Linked DNA regions of Homo sapiens: region 2 is linked to region 1. Evidence: promoter capture Hi-C in human tissues and cell types (Jung and others, 2019). All regions are on one chromosome and are shown on one strand. Each heading gives the region's core, a stretch centred on a gene start or on the middle of the fragment in contact. The rest is flanking DNA. Distances are from core to core; before and after follow the strand shown.

The links. The method cuts DNA at HindIII sites, captures the fragments that hold promoters and counts their contacts. A contact is called where the count stands out against the background at its distance.
Region 2: a contact is called between a fragment that was not itself captured here and the fragment with the promoter of ACSM1 in region 1, in 1 of the 25 tissues and cell types used here (stomach).

The regions. Positions count from the first base shown.
Region 1 is chr16:20,694,171-20,699,837 of GRCh38, forward strand. ACSM1 (acyl-CoA synthetase medium chain family member 1) reads right to left here and starts at 3,510. Exons shown (of 14, transcript NM_001318890.3): 1 at 3,466-3,510. It also overlaps a transcript of ACSM3 not described here. The HindIII fragment of the contact is 5,047 bases long and covers 2,395-5,667 here.
Region 2 is chr16:20,751,498-20,757,164 of GRCh38, forward strand. It overlaps a transcript of ACSM3 not described here. Among named protein-coding and RNA genes, the nearest start is that of ACSM3, 9.7 kb to the right of the region's middle. The HindIII fragment of the contact is 3,716 bases long and covers 1,552-5,267 here.

The DNA of each region.
Region 1 (5,667 bases), core at 2,260-4,759:
AAAAAAGTTCTAAGTTGCTAGCCAATCGGGACAAATACAGAATGTGAGGTCCCGTTCCAGCCAGTGGAAACCGGACACAGCAGTAGGGTGGATGCGTCAGGTTATAAATGACCCTGTCTCCTTTGTTCTATGTACTCTCCTGGCAAAACTGCTGGCAAGTGTACCATTTCTGCAGGAAGTAAAAATGGCCTTGCTGAGTAAATTAAATTTACATTCAAGTCCTATTTCTTTACGGCACCAAGGAACAAACATTTCAAACAATATTGTAGCCAAGTTGGTTCTAGAAGCCCATCACCTCTGTTACATTTTCCAACACACACCTCCTTCCACAGGCATGAGCTTAGTTTGGGTGAGAATATCAAACTCAGTTGCAATTTTTCTATGCAGGTGTCTATATGACCTCAGGGTCTTCCTTAAAATACAAACTCACCATTTTTCCTGAAGACAGTCCAAACAACCCCTTACTAAGTGACTAAAGACCAAAACAAAAGGGAGAGATATAGTGAGGGAATCCATTAACCAGTTATCATGGTTTGAACTGTGTCCCCCATGAATGTATGTGGTGAAGTACGAACCCCAATATTTCAGAACACCACTGTATTTGGAGATTGGGTCTTTAAAAATGTAATTAAGTTAAAATGAGTTATTAGGGTGGGCCCTAATCCAATATGACTGGTGTCCTTATAAAAAGAGGAGATTAGGACACAGACACACACAGAGGGAGACCATGTGAATATGAAGATAGCCAAGGAAAAAGACCTCAGAGAAAACCACCCTGATCTTGGACCTCCAGCCTTCAGAACTTTGAGAAAATCAATTTCTGTTGTTTAAACCACTCAGTCATTAGTAATTTTCATGGCAGCCCTAGCAAACCAATGTACTCCTCTTGATCAAATAAAGAAGAAATGACTTTGGCATCATCTCACAAATGTGTTTGTGATTCTAATTTAATCTTCGTCACATGAGAGGGCCAAACACAGTGCCCAGCTGTGGAGAACTGTGGTAGCTGAAACAGCATGGCCCTAGAGATCAAACAACACGGGCTCAAATTCCAGCACTTTCATTTCCCACCCACATAACTTGGGGCAATTTATTTAACCTCCCTATAAAAACATAGGCATATTGGCAGCACCTATTGCCTGAAGCCATGGTGATAAATGCACGATATCCTGCAAAAAGCATTCAGCACGGACAAGTATTTTAGAAATAAGAGCTGTTGCTAGTTAACACACTTTATAGGGAAGCTCTTATAGAGTAGTTAAGCCAGAGGAAAAAAATTTCCTTAACTTTTGGAGTTAAGGTCTAAAGAGAAGGAATGGGGATGAATACCTGAACATAGACACCATAGGACTGGTATATGTCCAGCTTTTTCACTGATTATCTGTCTATCTATCTATCTATCTATTACCTATCTATTATCTATCTATCATCTATTTATCTATCTATTACCTATCTATTATGTATCTATCGTCTATCTATCTACCTATTACCTATTTTCTATCTATCTATCATCTATCTATCTATCTATCTATCTAGATATATAAGAACCTGATCTCCAAGTGTTGAGGACTGAAAATCAGATATCTATATGTCTATGTCTGCGTCTATCTCTATCTCTGTATGTATGTTAAGCTTCATTTCTAAATCTATTTCTGTATCTATATACCAATATTTACATTTATACCTATATCACTATCTGTGTATATCTATACATTAATATTAATGTCTATAACAATAACACATGTACACTGTAGTCATGTGCCACAATATGATGTCATTGTCAGTGATGGATCACATATACAGAGTGGCCCATACAATTATAATGACATATTTCTACTGTACCTTTTCTATGTTTCAATACACAAGTACTTACCATCGTGTCATGACTGCCTACAGTATTTAATACAGCAACAAGCTACATAGGTTTGTAGCCTAGAAGCAATGGGCTATAGCATATCGCCTATATGTGTAGAAGACTATGCTTTGTGGGTTTGTGTAAGTACACTCTATGAGTTCCCATAATAACAAAATCACCTAACAATGCATTTCTCAGACGTATCTTGGTTGTTAAGTGATGCATGTCTCTATCTCTATCACTATCTCTGTCTCTATCTCTATCTCCGTCTCTGTCTCTGTTTCGATATCTATTTCCATCCACATCTGTCTTCAGATTTGACTTCACAAAGCTTAGTTTGTCTATTTCTCACCGTGCTGGACATAGTAAGTGCTCAACAAAAAGTTAGATTCTTCCCTTCTTTGTCATAATTCAGAAAACTGAGTGATGAAAGTCAGAAAGAGAAAAGCCAGTGTGCCCACAAATTATCTGAGTTATAGAAAAATGTATTTTTTCTTTCTCAAGTATTTACTATAGATGTACCATGTACAGTTTTAGATACTATTGGAGATTAATTAAACTGAAAGAGTTCCTACCCTGTTAGAGCATATCATTAAAGCACATCCTATGAAATCATTTTAAAGAACAATTTTCTGAACTGCTTAAAGTGCATTCTGAAAGCAATTTGACATGGTAGCTTTGAGAGGCAGCTGGGCTCCCCACTGTATTCCCAGATACATAGTGCCTTGAACAGCTCCTGCAACTAAGCTTTGACTTCACAGGACTTGGGACTGATAAAGCTATTTAATGAAGCAACATACTTACTGTGTTATAGGGTATCCCAGAGTTACAGAGCCAGGGCTAGATGTTTGTCTCTGTTGTCTAGCAGCTGGGTCTTTGGTGCTGTTCATGTCTCTGAACTTAAGCGCACAGTAGTAATACCTTCTTCCCAGCTCCCCATAAGGATTAGTGTGATAATTTACTTGCTGGCACTGAATGAAGTGCACGGTAAGGACTCAATAAATGTTGAGGTACCTTTTAACTCCCAGCAAATTCTGAAGCCAACCCCCTCCCCATTAGATGTTAACCATTTTTTTTGAAACTGTCACCTGGACTGGAGTGCAGTGGTGTGATCATAGCTCACTGCAGCCTCAATCTCCTGGGCTACAGTCATCCTCCTGCCTCAGCCTTTCAAGTACCTGGGACCACAGGCATGTATTACTATGCTTGGATAATTTTTTTTAGAAGGCATTCACTTTATAGAAAGTGAGCCAACTTCTGCATAGATAGAAAAGATTTCCTTCAAACATTCATCTCTGACTTTGTGCCTGTCTCCCACGGCTCACCACATTCAGAGCTGCCTGACACTAAACCAGTCCCCATTTACATGCCAGCCACTGTGCTAAACATATTACATGTACGTTCCTATTTATTCCTCTCACCCAATATCACCATTGTCATTTTGCCTCTAAAATGAAGTGCCAAGAAGTTAAGTGACTTGCCCAAGGTCACTCAACTTAAAAGTAGCATTGCCAGAACTTAAAATTGGATTACACACACACACACACACACACACACACACACACACACACACACACACAGATAGAAGCTGACCTTCACCTCTGTCTTACCTGGTACTGTTTAGGACGTAGCTGAACTAGGTCCCTGGTAGGTATGGAAAAGGAGGTTGAGCTCTCTTTTGTAGGTTCAGTTCTCTCTGATCAGGTGATCCGCAGGATTGTGCACCCAGCAGAACTTGGCTTCTGGCCACAGCGAAGGGGGACCTTGAACAGAGAACTTGTTAGGAATTGGGTAATTCAGTAGGGGGAGGAGATGCTCAGGTAAAATAGGACAGAAACAATTACAGGCCTCCACGGAGAGATAATCACTTAGAAAACAAACCATGTGGGCCGGGCGCAGTGGCTCGCGCCTGTAATCCCAGCACATTGGGAGGCCGAGGCGGGCGGATCACGAGGTCAGGAGATGGAGACCATCCTGGCTAACACGGTGAAACCCCGTCTCTACTAAAAATACAAAAAATTAGCCGGGTGTGGTGGTGGGCGCCTGTAGTCCCAGCTACTCGGGAGGCTGAGGCAGGAGAATGGCGTGAACACGGGAGGCGGAGCTTGCAGTGAGCCGAGATCATGCCACTGCACTCCAGCCTGGGAGACAGAGACTCTGTCTCAAAAAAAAAAAAAAAAAGAAAAACAAACCACGTATACGAAGTCACCTCCAATTCCGGTGGCATGGCTAGGGGTGTGAATGAACTAGATCCAATGGTGCATTTTCACTAGTTCTCTGTGGCTAACCTGCTCCCCCTTCCCAGCCCTACATCACCATAGTCTCCCTTAAATGACAGCTGAGAGTCAGTGTAGCCTAATGGATAAGAGCCTGGGCTCTGGAGGTCTGGAGGCAGAAAGGTCTGAGTTTGAGCCTTAGGTCTGCCACTTAACCTCCATGTCATCTTTGTGGACCTTCTTGCTCTGGGCCTCACCTCCCTTAATTGGTTTTCGGTTGCTTTTGAGACAGAATCTCATGCTGTCACCCAGGCTGGAATGCAATGGCATGGTCTTGGCTCACTGCAACCTCCGCCTCCCAGGTTTAATTGAGTCTCTTGCCTCAGCCTCCCAAGTAGCTGGGATTATAGGTGCCCGCCACCACACCCAGTTAATTTTTGTATTTTTAATAGAGACAGGGTTTCATCATGTTGGCCAGGGTGGTCTTGAGCTCTTGACCTCAGGTGATCTGCCCGCCTCAGCCTCCTAAAGTGCTGGGATTACAGGCATGAGCCACAGCACCCAACACCTACCTTATTTGTAAAATAGGAATGATAACAACAATACCTACCTCCCAGGGTGTTTTCTTTGCTTCTTCATTTGTTTGTTAGAACTAGATGAAATAATTTATAAAAAGCATGTAGCACACGGTGCTGGGCATAGTCGATGTTGGCTCTTTTTATTCACTTGGGATTCTCAGAGGAACAATTTGGTATCCTGGTAAAATGCAGGGTCTTTGGAATCCCAAAGTCTTGAGCTTAATTAAGTCCAACCTCAGGCACTCACAAGAAAGCTCTTGGGTGAACCATTTTCCTTTCAAAGCTTGGTCTTGACATTTGTAAAATGAAGCAGGATTTGTTAATAAGATTTGTTGCATGGGATCATTGAAAGGATTATGTGACACCAAGCCTGTAAAGCACCTGGACCAGGCATTTAGATGGAGGGTTGATAGTGATATTGCATTGGATAAACCAAGGTAGTCATAGGTAGCGGCTTGTACTATGACTTTTCTACTGGAGCCATTTTTGGGGCATTGTTAGAGAATGAGGGATCTCCAGTATTTTCATTGAAGCTGGGAAGAAATTATTTCTGATCAAAGTCATGGCTAAAGATTTCTGGAGACACCCAGGACATTCCTGACAGGACCGTGTGGCAAGCTAGGATAGTTTGGGTTTTTAATATTTAGCTTTCTGTGGCCAGTCACTGGAGAGGTGAGAAGGCAGGGCTAGTTGACTGGCCATGGTAAGCTAAACCTTAAACACCCAAAGCATCAAAGTACCAAAAAACAAAGAAACGAACAAACAAAACAACTAACCAAAAAACCTCTGTTACTAAAGAGAAGGAGCAGCCACTTTTCGGAAAAGAATGGAGACGGGGGAAAAGCCCTTGACACACTCTCTGCATCTGAGTAGTTCTCCCCTGTGGAACTGCAACATGAAGGCATGGACAAGAAGACAGGCTCTGGCACCAGGCAGCCTGGGCTTGAGTCTAGCTTTTACCAGTTACCAGCTCTGTGACATTGAGCAGATTTCTTATCCCTCTTTTCCTCAATTTTCT
Region 2 (5,667 bases), core at 2,160-4,659, 57 kb after region 1:
AAACCCAGGAGAAACTGGGAAAATATTCCAGGTGCCTTTTTTCCCCATTTTGACTGACTTATGCCAATTCTATAAAACACTGCTCATCATCCCCCTGCCAAGTGATAGTAGAGCTCAGTGGGGCTCGGAGAAGCCCTGCCATTCTTCCTCTGCTTAGCTGTACCAGAGCTGGTCTATGTGGGAGCCAGGGTCTCTTGGGAAGAAAAGGAATGGAAAGATGGGGTTTCATTACACATCGGTTATGTCACCTTGGCTTCTCCATTCTTCTTCCCTTGGGGGTTTTATGAGAAGGCAAAAATCACATTTAAGGGATATATTGACATGTTCATTGTCAAAATCTTTGCTCCAGCCAAACTGATTCTAGGTATAGTCAAACAACTTGGCATTAAAACAAAAGGACATTAACCTTCTGTCAGAATCACTTTCAAGCTGTGACTTATTTCAAGGTTGTTTTCTCTCTACTAGACTTCGTTTCCTCACATTAAAAAAAATGGATATATAGTACTACTTAGCTTACAGAGCTGCTATGAGAAATAAATGATATGAGCTATCTAAAACACTTGGCATACAGAAAACATTCAACAAGTGAGGCTGAGGCAGGAGAATGGTGTGAACCCGGGAGGCAGAGCTTGCAGTTAGCCGAGACTGCACCACTACTCTCCAGCCTGGGCGACAGAGCGAGACTCTGTCTCACAAAAAAAAAAAGTGGTCATTCTCTTCTACTCAGCCAGGCATGGTAGCTCACACCTGTAATCTCAGCATTCTGGGAGGCCAAGGCCAGAGGATCACTTGAGCCCAGGGTTTTAAGACCAACCTGGGCAACATAGTGAGACTCTGTCTCTCAAAAAAAAAAATTCACTTCTGCTCCGTATAAGGAATGGTCCCAACCCTAGTTGCTGTTCCTTGCCATTGTTTTTCTTGTGGTTGTCTCATGATAAAAGAAAACAGTTGATGGAAAATGATATGTTAGAAGACTCTCTCAAAAGCCTGGTCTTGGCTGGGAACTACATTTATTTATTAGAGTTTTTCTTAAGACAGTTGAATATAAGAATTATTCCAATCACTTATGTCGGAATCCTTCTTAGATAAAGCCTCAGTGGCACTAGGTTACTCCCTAGGATTAAAACTGGGTAGGGGTCGAGGGAGATTAGATTTCAGTTGAGTGCTAGAGAAGAAAACCTGATCTATTTTTAGAGAAAATGGAGATCCCTATGAAATAATAGATATAGATAACAATTATCAATAGCTGCATTAGGTGAAAAGCTGCTGGAAACATAATGAATGGATCAGGTGATGCCTTAACATCACAAAAGGAGAGCCAACACAACATTATGATTCTCCAGATGTGATGCAATAGAATTCTGCAAAGATATTTATGCAATCTTTTTGCTATAAATGGATCTATCCTCTAGATTTAACTATTAGTTTATAGAAACTACACGGGACAGAAAAATATGTTAAACTCAACCACATTGAATTAGCAAAATCAACACTGAATTTGGGAAACTTTAGAGGACAATGCCGTATGTTCTACAATGAATTACAAAGAAAAAGAAGAGAGAGATGGAATTTATAGATTAAAAACTTAAGATATATATCAATAAAATGCAATGTGTTGCCCTTGTTTGGACACTGAGTTGAAAAAAAAAAACAAATGTAAAACAAAATTGAATCTGGAAAAGGCTGGCTGGGTGGGGTGGCTCATACCTGTAATCCCAGCACTTTGGGAGCCGAGGTGGGCAGATCACCTGAGATCAGGAGTTTGAGACCAGCCCGGCCAACATGGTGAAACCCCGTCTCTACTAAAAATACAAAAATTAGCCAGGCATGGTGGCACATGCCTGTAATCCCAGCTACTTGGGAGGCTAAGGCACAGAAATTGCTTGAACCTGGGAGGCAGAGGTTGCAATGAGCTGAGATTGCACCACTGCACTCCAGCCTGGGTGACAGAACGAGACTGTCTCCAAAAAAAAAAAAAAAAAAGAGTGAATCTGGAAACATGAAATTTGAAAAATTATATTAATAGAGGATTATTATGGCTTTTTCAGGTATTAAATGGTATTGTGATTAGGTTTTAAAAGAGTCCTTATCTTTTAGAGATACATAAGGATTTTCCACAATAAGGAAGAAAAAGAGAGACCAAGAGAAGAGGTACAGATATACAGACAGAGAATAAAGAAGTAAAAGCTGCAGATACAGACAACTATTTTTGAGAAATTTTGCTGTAAAAAGGAGACAAGTAATGAAGAGGTGGAGGGAGACAAATGGCCCAAGAAATTTTATTTTCACATGGGAAATATTACCATGTATTTGTGCCTGACTTTGTTTCCCTATTACAACTCTTAAGAAAGAAATGAAAAGAAGAAAGAGAAAGAAAAGAGAGAGAGAGAAAGAAAGAAAGAAAAGAATGAAAGAAAGAAAAAAAAGACAGAGAAAGAAAGAAATTGATGATGCAAGAGAGAGGAAGAATAACTGAGGGAGTAATATCCTGGAGTAAGGGAGAGGGAATGGTGTCAAGTCCACAGTGGAAAAGGTGACCCACGCTAGGACCTTGGACAATTTTTCCATGGTCATTGGAAGGAATGCAGAAAGTATGGGCAGAGTTGTAAGAGTACTGGTTGGTTAACTGGTTAGGGGGAATAAGGACATTCTCTTCTGGCTTTTCTCACTTATAAATCTCAGTGAAATAAGAGGGGAGAAGGAGAGGTACTAGTTTAGAGAAACAGGGGAAGGAGTGAAACAGTTATCTCCAAGTGTAGAAATGTAGTGGGGTTGTCAGAGAGTGAGAACGGCCCACATGAATATTTTGCAGTCAGGAAGTTAAAGTGTGCTAACATAATTAAATAGGAGGCCATTAGACTGAGGTGGCTCTAACACTCAGGGTTCCCACATAAGCAAACTGAAGCCTAACTCAGAATTTAAAATAAAATGAAATATAAGCTCAGCCAGTCACAGGCAGCCAACTGGGCTTTAGTATATTGTCTTGAACTTCCCACCAGAACAGTGCAAATAAGGCAATTGTTCAAACCTTTACCAATCAAGTAATTTCTTTGCTCAGCTTCCACATTCACCCTATAAACACCCTCCCTTTGTGCCCTGCAATAGAGCCCTGAATTACTTCCCATTTGGAGCTGCCTGATTCATGGATCAGTTTGCTCACATGTATGCTTTAAAATTTTAATGTGCCTTAGTCTATCTTGTAACAAGTGTAACCATTGAGTTTAGGACCACCAACAAATACCATGTGCAATTCTCCAGAGCCATATTAAGCTTCTCAAGTGTCACAAATAAGTAGAATTATCTGGAGTTTTGCATAGAGCTGGGTTTTCCCACATGAGTATGGTGGAGGGAGAGCAGTACAAAGAATCTGAATGGCACAGAGAATCCAAGCTGGGCAGAAGATAAGTGAAGGCATGAAGGAGGTGTGCTTAAGTCAATGGACTTAAGATTTTAGAGGGGCAGAGGAATTATTGTGACGAAGGCTGGGGATGGTGTGAGAGAAGGCCAAGCAGGGAACAGGCCAGTGTCCATAGAGACCATGTCGGGAGCTGGAACTCTAGTCCCCACCCAACAATAAGAAGAAGCTCCTTGCAACTCAGGTGTCATCCAAAGCTGGGTAAAGAACCTAGATGTCTATATTCACCTGGCAATAATGAGGTGGTGCCCCTTCCCTGTCCCCTACCTGGGCAGTGTCAAAGCCAGCTAAAATATAAAGTTTAAATAAGGTGCAGAGTCTTATTACAAGAATGTCTGTGTTTGAATTGAAAATCACTCCTCATACCAAAACCAGGAAGAGTTCAAATGAATGAAGAAAGATGATGGATAGATGCTAACACTGAGATGACAGAAATGTTAGAATCATCTGACAAAGATTTTAAAGTAGCCTTGATAAAAATGCTTCAGTGAACAATTAGGTATGCTTGAAATAAATGAAAAAAATATATATCAGCAAAAAATAGAAGATATCAAGAACAACTAAATGAAAATAAATATTAGAACTAAAAAATTCAATGAGAAATCAAAAGCTTGGTGGATGGTATGATACTATAAAATATATATTTCATCTTCATTCCAGTTTCCTGGTACATAGCCGCTAAAACCCCTGGAATTTCTGAAGTGGTAAGTGCTTTTTATTATTATTATTATTATTATTATACTTTAAGTTTTAGGGTACATGTGCACAATGTGCAGGTTAGTTACATATGTATACATGTGCCATGCTGGTGTGTTGCACCCATTAACTCATCATTTAGCATTAGGTATATCTCCTAATGCTATCCCTCCCCCCCCCCCACCCCACAGCAGTCCCCAGAGTGTGATGTTCCCCTTCCTGTGTCCATGTGTTCTCATTGTTCAATTCCCACCTATGAGTGAGAACATGCGGTGTTTGGTTTTTTGTCCTTGCGATAGTTTACTGAGAATGATGACTTCCAATTTCATCCGTGTCCCTACAAAGGACATGAACTCATCATTTTTTATGGCTGCATAGTATTCCATGGTATATATGTACCACATTTTCTTAATCCAGTCTGTCATTGTTGGACATTTGGATTGGTTCCAAGTCTTTGCTATTGTGAATAGTGCCGCAGTAAACATACGTGTGCATGTGTCTTTATAGCAGCATGATTTATGGTCCTTTGGGTATATACCCAGTAATGGGATGGCTGGGTCAAATGGTATTTCTAGTTCTAGATCCCTGAGGAATCGCCACACTGACTTCCACAATGGTTGAACTAGTTTACAGTCCCACCAACAGTGTAAAAGTGTTCCTATTTCTCCACATCCTCTCCAGCACCTGTTATTTCCTGACTTTTTAATGATTGCCATTCTAACTGGTGTGAGATGGTATCTCATTGTGGTTTTGATTTGCATTTCTCTGATGGCCAGTGATGATGAGCATTTTTTCATGTGTCTTTTGGCTGCATAAATGTCTTCTTTTGAGAAGTGTCTGTTCATATCCTTTGCCCACTTTTTGATGGGGTTGTTTGTTTTTTTCTTGTAAATCTGTTTGAGTTCATTGTAGATTCTGGATATTAGCCCTTTGTCAGATGAGTAGGTTGCGAAAATTTTCTCCCATTTTGTAAGTTGCCTTTTCACTCTGATGGTAGTTTCTTTTGCTGTGCAGAAGCTCTTTAGTTTAATTAGATCCCATTTGTCAATGTTGGCTTTTGTTGCCATTGCTTTTGGTGTTTTAGACATGAAATCCTTGCCCATGCCTATGTCCTGAATGGTAATGCCTAGGTTTTCTTCTAGGGTTTTTATGGGTTTAGGTCTAACGTTTAAGTCTTTAATCCAACTTGAATTAATTTTTGTATAATGTGTAAGGAAGGGATCCAGTTTCAGCTTTCTACATATGGCTAGCCAGTTTTCCCAGCACCATTTATTAAATAGGGAATCCTTTCCCCATTGCTTGTTTTTCTCAGGTTTGTCAAAGATCAGATAGTTGTACATATGCGGCGTTATTTCTGAGGGCTCTGTTCTGTTCCATTGATCTATATCTCTGTTTTGGTACCAGTACCATGCTGTTTTGGTTACTGTAGCCTTGTAGTATAGTTTGAAGTCAGGTAGCGTGATGCCTCCAGCTTTGTTCTTTTGGCTTAGGATTGACTTGGTGATGCGGGCTCTTTTTTGGTTCCATATGAACTTTAAAGTAGTTTTTTCCAATTC